Regions from separate parts of the Homo sapiens genome. Here regions 1 and 3 are each linked to region 2. Evidence: promoter capture Hi-C in human tissues and cell types (Jung and others, 2019). All regions are on one chromosome and are shown on one strand. Each heading gives the region's core, a stretch centred on a gene start or on the middle of the fragment in contact. The rest is flanking DNA. Distances are from core to core; before and after follow the strand shown.

Region 1 (3,461 bases), core at 730-3,229, 48 kb after region 2:
TGTCTCTGCCTCCTGCCCCATGAAGGTTTCTGGGCCTCTTTAATTATTGCCTTTGGCATATGACCTTGAGCATATGACCTGCTGATTAAGTTGGTCAAAGGGAATTAGTAATTTATTTGAGAAGCAATGTCAACCTGCTTTTTTTCCATTTCAACTTTTTATTTTTAATTTACATTTACATAGAAGTTGCAAAATTAGTACAGAGATTACTAATTGCCTAACCCCAATGATAACATTTTACATACCCATAGTGCAGTGATCAAAACCAGGAAATTGACATTGGTACAATACTATTAACTAACTGCAAAACTTTTTTGGATTTCATCAATTTTTATATTTACTGAATTTTTTTATACAGTTCTATGAAACTTTTAACGCATGTGTAGTTTCATATAACCCACATCACCATCAGGATACAGAATTATTCCGAAATAAACCTCATCACCCCAAAGAAACTCCCTTCAGCTACTTCTTACAGTCACACCTCGGTTCCAACTCTACCTGCTAATTTTTAAATTTATTTTTATTTTTGAGATGGAGTCTCACTCTGTTGCCCAGGTTGGAGTAGAATGGTGTAATCTTGACTCACTGCAACCTCTGCGTCCCGTGTTCAAGCGATTCTCATGCCTCAGCCTCCCAAGTAGCTGGTTTTACAGGCATGCACCACCACTCCTGGCTAATTTAGTATTTTTAGTAGAAACAGGGTTTCACCATATTGGGCAGACTGGTCTCGAACTCCTGGCCTCAGGTGATGCTCCCACCTTGGCCTCCCAAAGTGCTGGGATTACAAGCATGAGCCACTGTGCCTGGTCGTTTTTTATTTATTTTGAGACCCCTACTTGCTGATTTTTAAGGCAGCATGTTCAAAGTTTTTGATCGTATAATTCTGCTGATTTTTAGAAACTGGGTGATGGCAAAGTGAAAAGTGTTTTGATGTATTATCTTCAGATTTGACACCAAAATGTACAGCCTTGATATTGAATAAGTCCAGAGCATGTCAATTCTGGCTCATACGATATTCCAGTTGATGGAAGACTCTTGGGGGGTAAGATTACGATGATGTTGCCACCATTTTGTGAGAATTTCCTGATGTTGGGCTCTGTGCTGTGCTATGTAAGCAAGTTGTCATTTAATCCTTCCAACAATCCAGGCATTTGAGTTCTATACTTCCTCCCATTTTACAGCTGAGGACCAAAGCTCAGAGAGGGGTGTCACTTGCCCAGTGACACACAGCAAGGCAGGGAGAGGCAGAGCTGGGCTCCCACCCACTCTGTCTCACTCCAGATCCTGTGTCCTTTACTTCCTTCTGTATGTTGGCAAGAGCTGAGCCATGTGGGCTCAGCCCAAGCCTGTATCTGCCTGCTCTGTGGCCTCCAGCAAATAAATCGCTTACCCTCTGTGGGCCTGAGATCCCTTGGGAGGTCAGAACAAGGTTCTTTTCAATCCTGAAATTGTTTCTAGACTGTATGAGTTTTCAAGAAATTAGAAACCACTACACAATAACTCAAACAAACAAATCCAAAAACATTCAGCACAAACATTGTGTTGATGGTGTATTAGTTCGTTTTCATGCTGCTGATAAAGATATACCCAAAACTGGGAACAAAAAGACGTTTAATTGGACTTACAGTTCCACATGGCTGGGAAGGCCTCAGAATCATGGCAGGAGGCAAAAGGCACTTCTTTTTTTTTTTGAGATGGAGTCTTGCTCTGTTGCCTGGGCTGTAGTGCAGTGGCGCCATCTTGGCTCACTGCAAGCTCCGCCTCCCAGGTTCACGCCATTCTCCTGCCTCAGCCTCCCGAGTAGCTGGGACTACAGGCACCACCACGCCTGGTGAATTTTTTTTTTTTTTTTTTTTTGTATTTTTAGTAGGTATGGGGTTTCACCGTGTTAGCCAGGATGGTCTCGATCTCCTGACCTCATGATCCGCCCACCTTGGCCTCCCAAAGTGCTAGGATTACAGGTGTGAGCCACTGCGCCTGGCCAAAAGGCACTTCTTACATGGCGGCGGCAAGAGAAAAATGAGGAAGATGCAAAAGCAGAAACCCCTGATAAACCCATCATATCTCGTGAGACTTAGTCACTATCACAAGAATAGCATGGGAAATACCAGCCCCCATGATTCAATTACCTCCCCCTGGGTCCCTCCCACAATATGTGGGAATTCTGGGAGATACAATTCAAGTTGGGATTTGGGTGAGGACACAGCCAAACCATGTCAGATGGCATCACTTGCTATTTTTCAGAGCCAGATCCCAGGGGGCATTTTTGAGCATATTTGAGGCCAGTGCTCTCAATATTAGTTATCAAGGCAGGAAAGCCTGTTACACAGCCTTTCAGTACGCACTGCTGCTAAACAGCATTTGGTTGCCCCAGTAATAGAAGGGCAGACATCATCTGAGCCTCTAAGTCACTTCCTGTCTCAAATGGGAGATGTGGTAGAGGCAGATAGAGTCAGCCAGGCCTCCACAACCTGCTAATTATTATTCTTGTTACTATTATAAAGGCTCTATCATGACCATGTGTTAAGGAGGTACATGCTGAGCACCCCGCTAAATACCTTTAATTTTTGGTTCTCTCAAAAGTCCTTCCAGCAGGCTGGGCTTACAGGTGGCTTATGCCTGTAATCCCAGTGCTTTGGAGGCCAAGGTGGTGGGATCACTTGAGGCCAGGAATTCAAGACCAGCCTGGGCAACATAATGAGACCCTATATCTACCAAAAATTTAAAATTTGAAAATTAGCCAGTGGTGGCGCATGCCTCTAGCCCCAGCTAATTAGGAGGCTGAAGTGGAAGGATCACTTGAGCCCAGGAGTTCGAGGTTACAGTGCGCTTTGATTGTACCACTGCACTCCAGCCTGTGTGACAGAGAAAGACCTTATCTTAAAAAAAAGAAATCCTTTTTTCAGCCCTATGAGCTATATTATTATTATCCCCATTTTACAGATGGGGCAGCTGAGGCTCTGGGTGGTAACCGAGTGACACTGGGGATTGAACTCTCATCTGTGGATTGTGCGTCCTCTGCTGGTCTCCATCCAAACCTGCATATTCTCTCCTCTTGCTAGTAAATACTATGAGAAGGAAGCTCTCCTGATGGACCCTGTGGACGGCCCCATCCTTGCATCTTTGTTGGGTAAGTTGTCCTGTGTGCTGAGCTTCATCTAGACCCGTGGTCTTGAGTCTGAGGGGCACCTTCTCCAGGACTCTCTCACCCCTGTCCAGCCTTGCCCATGGAAATGCAGCACTGTTCTAGCTGGCTGGAGGGGAGGGTAGTGAGATGGGCGGCCATCTGCTGGTAGACATGCGGGAGGACTTTCCGGGGCAGTGGGTTTCCAGCCCCCACATGCCCCTCAGTGGGGCCCTGTGCCCTAGAGTACACCAAGATGAAGACTGCAGATCACTTCTGGACCGATCCCTCGGCTGACGAACTTGTCCAGAGGCACCGCATCCACAGCTCCCAC
Region 2 (3,632 bases), core at 1,133-3,632:
TGTTAAACAAACAGGGATGAAACCCCCTCCAGGCTTGGCTTTGTCAATGACATAAGGCTCATAGGGTTAGCGTGGGGTGGAAGGAGGGTCAATAAGATCATGTGAGCAAAACCCAAAGCCCTTAGCGCAGTGCCTGCCACATAGTAGGTGCGCAATATATGATTATTTTTGCTGCCAAGCAACCATTTCCCATTCTCCTGGGGGACTTGCTGGAGATTGTGGAGCAGGGGTTTGTGATTGAGACACCTCTCCCCAAGCCAATGGGCAGGCTTGTGTCCCAGGTCAGGACAATCAGGCACTCCCTCCATAGGATGAAAACCTTAAACGAATGGCATTCTCTTTACCAGAGCAGCAGTGCCCTAACCACACTGTCCTTGCCAGGCAAATATTCCCAAGATTCCCCTTTCTGGCCTTCCAGAGCCACCTTGATTTCATCCCATTTCCCAGTTCTCCAGGCTCCCATGGGCTCTGGGATCACATATTATCTTCCCAGTTTATTTCCTTTTGCCTGAGGAAGCCAAAGTCAGCTTCTGTGGCTTACGGCCAGAGACCCCTGACACTGACCAATGGAAAAAAGGGGGCTCTGGATCCACTGCTGCACGGAGAGGCACTCTAAGCTGCCCTCTAGTCCTTCTGAAGGAAGGCCTGAATACTGGGGGACCCTAAAAGGCATTGCAAATCCTTAACATCACCATCAAAGTCATACAGGGTTTTGGCCCTGCACCTCTCTGGCCAACATCCCACCACCGTCCCCATTGTTCACACCACTCCAGCCCCACAGGCATCTGTGCTATTTGTCACTGTTTGACTGGACACACTCCCTCCTCAGGGACTTTGCATTTGCTGTTCCCTTGACTCAACTGCTCTTCCTCCAGAAATCCCCATGGCCTACTCCTTTTCCTCTTTGCTTAAATGTCACCTGCTCAGTGGGGCCTCCCTCAACCACCCTACTTCAGAATACGATCCCCAGGGGTCTGGGCCCTCCCTGTCCCCCTTGCCTACTTAATTTTTCTCCAGAACTTTCCAGCATGGTCTGTCCTTTTCTTACATATTTTGTTGTCCGCCTCCTAAACTCCATGAGGGCAGAGTTCATTGTCTGTCTTGCTCACTTAGAAATCTCTAGCACAGTCACTTGGCACAGAGTAGGTGCTCAATAAATATTGACCTGAGTTGCATTCTGGGTGGATACAGTTAGGGACTTGGGGTGACCAGGGGCTCTTGATGGAACAAGGCTTTTCCCACAGAGCCCACTGCTTGCTCAGCCCCAGAGATCCTGGCTGACAAGTGCCTCCTTTTGGGGCCAGACTCCTGGGAAAACCCCACTCCTCCAGTGACCTGCATGTCGGGGAGGGAGCCACTTAAGTCCCGGCCTCTCCTGAATGGATAACCAGTGTATCTTGGAAGACTCTTTTTTTTTTTTTTTTTTTTGAGATGGAGTTTCACTTTTGTTGCCCAGGCTGGAGTGTGGTGGCACAATCTTGGCTCACTGACACCTCTGCCTCCAGGGTTCAAGCAATTCTCATGCCTCAGCCTCCTGAGTAGCTGGGATTACAGGAGCACGCCACCATGCCTGGCTAATTTTTGTATTTGTATTTTTTTTATTTTTTGAGACGGAGTCTCACTCTGTCGCTCAGGCTGGAGTGCAATGGCGCCATGTTGGATCACTGTAACCTCTGCTTCCCGGGTTCAAGAGATTCTCCTGCCTTAGCCTCCCCAGTAGCTGGGATTACAGGCAGCTCGCCATCATGTCCGGCTAATTTTTGTATTTTCGTAGAGACGGGGTTTCACTATGTTGGCCAGGCTGGTCTCGAACTCCTGACCTCAAGTGATCTGCCCGCCTCGGCCTCCCAAAGTGTTGGGATTACAGGCGTGAGCCACCGCGACCGGCTGGAAGACCCTCAATAATAATAATTAATAATAATAACAGTAACAGTGGCAAGCATTTATGCTCGCTGGCCTTTCCCCCTGGGTCTGTATTAAGGGCTTCACATCCAATATCTCACTTAAGGCTCAGATCGTTCTGAGACCCATTATGCCCATTTTATACCACATTATACCCATTTTAAAGATGAGAAAACTGAGGCTTGGAGAATATCGGTAGTAGCCCCACCATTTCCTGTGACTTCCTGGAGCCTGGCCCACAGAGGAGGGTTCAGGACGGACGCTTTCCTTCCCCGCCCTAGGGAAGAGGGAGGGACGCGGGCGCTGGCGTGGAGGTTGGGGGAGCCTGAGAGGCTCGGGCGCTGGGTGCGCGGGAGGGAGCGTGCGTGCTTGGCGCGAAGGCTCCTGGCGCAGGCGACCCGGCTGCCCCGCCGAGCGGTGGCTTTCCGGAGGGGTGGGGCGGCCGCCTCGGGTCCTGACGTCGGGCGCCCTCCGGCCGTCACTCAGCGCTCGGCCCCGCCCCGCCGCGGCTGCAGCAGCAGCGCCGCGGCCGGAGGAGCTACCGCCGCCACCGCCGCCACCGCCTCCTGGGACTCGGAACGCAGCGCTCGGAGCCATGGCCTCGGCCCCCGCGGGTAAGAGGCCGCTGGACACGAGGGCGGCGGGAGGGCAGCGCCCGGCCCCCGCACCCTCTCTCGGCTGACCCGCGGCTCTCGTTTCTTGTCCCACAGAGGCGGAGACCCGACAGAGGCTGCTACGCACCGTCAAGAAGGAGGTGGGTGCCGGGGTGGGGGCACTGGGCAGGACTCCCCCGGCAGCAGCGGCCAAACGGGAAAAGAGTCTTCGTGGAAGGGTGGCCTCTGGCGGCGGGGGGGCGGCCAGAACAGGTGTGGGGCTCACCTGGGTGGGCATTGACCTCCCGCAGGGCAGGAGGCGCAGCGAGGGAGTTTGGGGGTGGGCGTAGGTGTGGGGAGGCTTTGGCCCATTTGAGGCTTTTTGCGGGGGCGGATGTAGCGTGAGGGCCCTCCAGGTGTGGGGCACACCTGGATGTATCCCGATAGGACCTCCTCTTGTGGAGGAGCAGGTGGGCGCGGCTCAGGAAGGGGACCTTCCAAGAGAGAGAAGCTGCTAGGGGGACGCCCCCCACAGGGTGTGCTGGAGGAGGGGCTCTGAATGGGGCTGCCGAAGGTGGGGCACGCTTCAGGAAAAGGCAGAAGGAAAATAAAACCTCCCTTCCCAGCCCCCGAATTCTCAGTCCTTGGAGCCACCTCCAAGAGCCAGGGGACTCCCTCCCTGAGAGTCACGGGTCAGTGAGCTGCTCCCCTGGCAGTAGGGGTCCCTTCACTCCCCCCGCCCCACTCCCACCCCACATTCAGAGGGTGAGAATCAGAGAGGTTCTGCCATTCCTCTGCCCCTCCACTCTCCTTGGGGTCAGCGCGTGGAGAGGGGGGCAGTCTAGTCTTTAGGGCTCATGGCCAATGACCTCCCAGAACCCCATAGACAGAATTTATAGTCCTTGGGGTAGCATCTCGATGCCTGGACTGCGTGCTCTGGTGTGTATACCTGCATGGGTGAGGACCTGTGGCTGTGAGTGTGTGCGTATGAGAATGTCTGTGCATCTGTCTGGAGATACCTAAGTGTATCTCTTTGCACTGTGTGTACACGTATCTATGTGTGTCTTTGTATCTGTTTTTGTGAGGGTGGGTCTGTGTGTGTATATTGTGTGGTGCATGAGTCTGTGAATGAGTGAT
Region 3 (3,521 bases), core at 532-3,031, 54 kb before region 2:
AGCAATTCTCCTGCTTCAGCCTCCTGAGTAGCTGGGATTACAGGCACGTGCCACCATGCCCGGCTAATTTTGTATTTTTAGTAGAGACGGGGTTTCTCCGTTTTGGTCAGGCTGGTCTCGATCTCCTGACCTCAGGTGATCCGCCCTCCTTGGCCTCCCAAAGTGCTGGGATTACAGGTGTGAGCCACTGCGCCCGGCCCATATTTGATTATCTACCAAACAACCCAACCACATTTAAAAAACTATGGTAGTAGGCTGGATGCAGTGGCTCATGCCTGTAATCCCAGCACTTCGGGAGGCCAAGGCAGGCGGATCACCTGAGGTCGGAAGCTCGAGGCCAGCCTGACCAATATGGTGAAACCCCGTCTCTACTAAAAATACAAAAATTAGCCAGGCGTGGTGGCAGGTGCCTGTAGTCCCAGCTACTTGGGAGGCTGAGGCAGGAAAATTGCTTGAACCTGAAAGGTAGAGGTTGCAATGAGTAGAGATCATGCCACTGCATTCCAGCCTGGGAGACGGAACGAGACTCCAACTCAAAAAAAAAAAAGTATGATAGTAGCCACTTTTAAGACTGAAAGAAGGGAAAGAAGGGATCACACTGGCACCATTCTAGTTATGTGACATTACCCTATATACAAGGCACGTGGATGCATGGATAATAGATAAGTCAAGCTATAATCCCCTAAAAGGAAAATATGTATGTTTATATGACAAATATGTTCAAGTAGCTAAATAACACAAACTGAAATACATGAAGGTTTACAATTTAAATATATTTAAAGAAATACAGTTTCATACCTGCCTGTAGTAGTCTATATAGGTGATTTTGCTGCCATCTGATTTGTTAAATGTGTCTTCAGGATTCTGCTTCCAATCAATATCATCTACTCTGTAGGTTTTGTTGTTGTATCTGTGGAATAATTACAATATGGTATTATTTGACTTATTCATCACATGGAACCATCCACACAGAAAATAGACATTTTTAATCCTGCAAGGAATTGCAGAATATATTAGATTTACTTAAGATGTAATTCACATACTGTACAACTCACCCATCTGAGCATACGATCACCTGGTTTTTACTACAGCCACAGAGTTGTGCAATCATCAAGACAAAGCAGCAGCATAACCATAGGCAGTCACTTCCCATTTTAGCCTAATCCACCAGCCTTCAGGCAGCCACTAGCCTACTTCGTGTCTCAACACATTTGCTCATTCATTTCACGTAAACTGAGTCATGCAACGTGTGCTCTTTCCCGACTGGCTTCTTTCACTTAGCATCATGTTTAAGGTTCATCCATGCTGTAGTAAGTCTTGGCACTTAATTCTTTTCATTTCCAAATAATATTCTATTGTATGATATCCCACCTTTTGTTTATCCATTCACCAGCTGGACATTATGGTTGTATATACTTTTGGTTACCATGAATAAGGTTATGAACATTTATGTGCCGATTTTAATAAATATGTTCTCATTTCTCTTGTGTATTTAAGTAGGAGTAAAATTTCTGGTTCATATGGTGATGATATAGGAGTTAAAATGGAATTTAGGTGGTTAGTAAGGGTAAAAGTTCTCGGTGGAATTTTCTCTTAATAAAAAAGCAGCCTCCAAATCATTTTTCTAACAAAAAGCAGCCTGAAAAAATCAAGCTGCAAACATAGATAAGCAAGCTGGAAGCTTACATAGTTGGATGCTGGCAGTTATGCCAGAAGCCAGTATATCCAACATGGAGGTTCTCTTCCCTTCTCCTTGTCCCTGCCATGTGTGCAGGTGTTATGGTGCCCGCCCACCAGATGGAGATCACATCTGCATAATGAAAGATTAGGGTGGGATGGCCAGCCTCTTCGCAGGCTATGTAAATGGCACACCTGGTCCAACCAATCCTCTGGGCCCTACGTAAATCAGACACCACCTCCTCAAGCCCCTCTATAAAACCAACTGCATCCCTCTGCAAAGCAGGAGATTCATTCGGAATGCCCCTCCCCCTGCAAGGGGGCACTTTTCTCTTCTTTCACCTATTCAGCTTTCCGCTCCTAAACCCACACTTTGTGGGTCTATGTCTTTGTTTTCCTTAGTGTGAGACAAACCTCATATATTTCCTCAAACGAGGCCACTTCAGTAATGCATATCGTTAGCATTTTAAGAAAGTGCCAGACTGTTTTACAAAGAAGCCATACCATTTAATATTCCTACAAGCAGCATACGAGAGAGTTGCTTCTGATCTTTCCACATCCTTGCCAACACTTGTCAATATCTAATTTTAACCATCCTAGTGGGTGTGAAATGATATCTCATTGTGGTTTTCACTTGCATTTCCATGATGGCTACTGATGTTAAACGTTTTCACGCATCTATTGATCATTTGTACATTTTAAGAAATATATCTGGAGAAGTATCTAATCAGATCTTTTGTCCATTTTAAAAATTATGTTGTCTCTCAAGTATTGTTTGTATATTCTAGATACAGGTTACTTATGTGATTTGCAAACATTTTCCCCAGTTTTTCCAGTTGTGTTTTCACAATTTTGATAGTATAGTTTGAATAAGTTTTTAATTTGGTGAAGCCCAATGTATCTATGTTTCTTTTGTTATCACTTCTGCTTTGAGTGGCTTATCTAAGGTTTCCCTAGCTCAAAGTCAAAAAGATTCAGTCCTATATTTTCTAAGAATGTTATGCTTTTAGTTCTTACATCTAGGTCTATTGAGTTGGTTTTTGAGTTAAACTGGAATTGTGTGAATTGCATGAGGAAGAAGCAGGTGGATGTTCAGTTGTCCCAGCAACATTATTGAAAAGACTATTCTTTCCCCTATTGAATTGCCTTGACACACTTGTCAGAAGTCAGCTGACGAAGTGGAGGGTTAACCTTCTGTACTCTATTTCATTGGTCTCTGTCTGTCTTTAGACCAACATCACACTGTCTTGATTACCAGAACTTTCTGGTAAGTTTTAAAATTGAGAAGTGTGAGTCCTCAAATTGTGTCCCTGTAAGGTTGTGTTGGCTAAGTAACTGGTTCTTTAAATCCATTCTCTTACCAATTTAAGGTTTCTGCTGTAGAAAGATTTTAAAACTTCCTTCAAATGGGAAATTGCTGATGGGTTATAACTAAGCACTGATTTTTAAACCAGCTAAATGCCCACAAAAGAGCAAAAGGAAAGAAATTCAGAAACAGCTTAGTGTTATGTGCAAGGTAGGGTTCAGAACAAATGGACTGGCATTAGGGATTTCAAGAAGAGTGAAGTCTACAATTGACACATTCTTCTCCCAAGTTGTATAACCAGAGGAGAGACGTGTTCAGTTGTTCTTGCAATTTCTACTCCTCAACTTCAACATTTAGTGATTAGAAAACTATAGGACCATCTCTTGGGGTGGGGGAAGGGGGAGTTAAAGTGATTGGATAGGTTTTTAAAAGACAGACTTACTTTGTCAGAACAATTGATCCAATTAATTTATTAGTTACTTCCTCTCGGATGTTTCCTGTCTGGGCCTGGGCAGATGTTCTCTTTATGAAATCATAA

What was found. Contacts are between HindIII fragments. The study calls those that stand out against the background at their distance.
Region 1: a fragment that was not itself captured here is called in contact with the fragment with the promoter of SGSM1 in region 2 in 2 of the 25 tissues and cell types used here (dorsolateral prefrontal cortex and liver).
Region 3: a fragment that was not itself captured here is called in contact with the fragment with the promoter of SGSM1 in region 2 in 1 of the 25 tissues and cell types used here (liver).

What each region holds. Positions count from the first base shown.
Region 1 is chr22:24,851,931-24,855,391 of GRCh38, forward strand. SGSM1 (small G protein signaling modulator 1) reads left to right here. Exons shown (of 25, transcript NM_001098497.3): 6 at 3,066-3,133; 7 at 3,355-3,461. Among named protein-coding and RNA genes, the nearest start is that of SGSM1, 47 kb to the left of the region's middle. The HindIII fragment of the contact is 6,903 bases long and covers 1-3,461 here.
Region 2 is chr22:24,803,829-24,807,460 of GRCh38, forward strand. It overlaps SGSM1 (small G protein signaling modulator 1), which reads left to right and starts at 2,383. Exons shown (of 25, transcript NM_001098497.3): 1 at 2,383-2,516; 2 at 2,613-2,656. The coding sequence starts at 2,498. RefSeq lists a silencer at 2,221-2,430. The HindIII fragment of the contact is 18,100 bases long and covers 1-3,632 here.
Region 3 is chr22:24,750,589-24,754,109 of GRCh38, forward strand. PIWIL3 (piwi like RNA-mediated gene silencing 3) reads right to left here. Exons shown (of 21, transcript NM_001255975.1): 8 at 3,426-3,521; 9 at 799-910. Among named protein-coding and RNA genes, the nearest start is that of PIWIL3, 22 kb to the right of the region's middle. The HindIII fragment of the contact is 4,992 bases long and covers 1-3,521 here.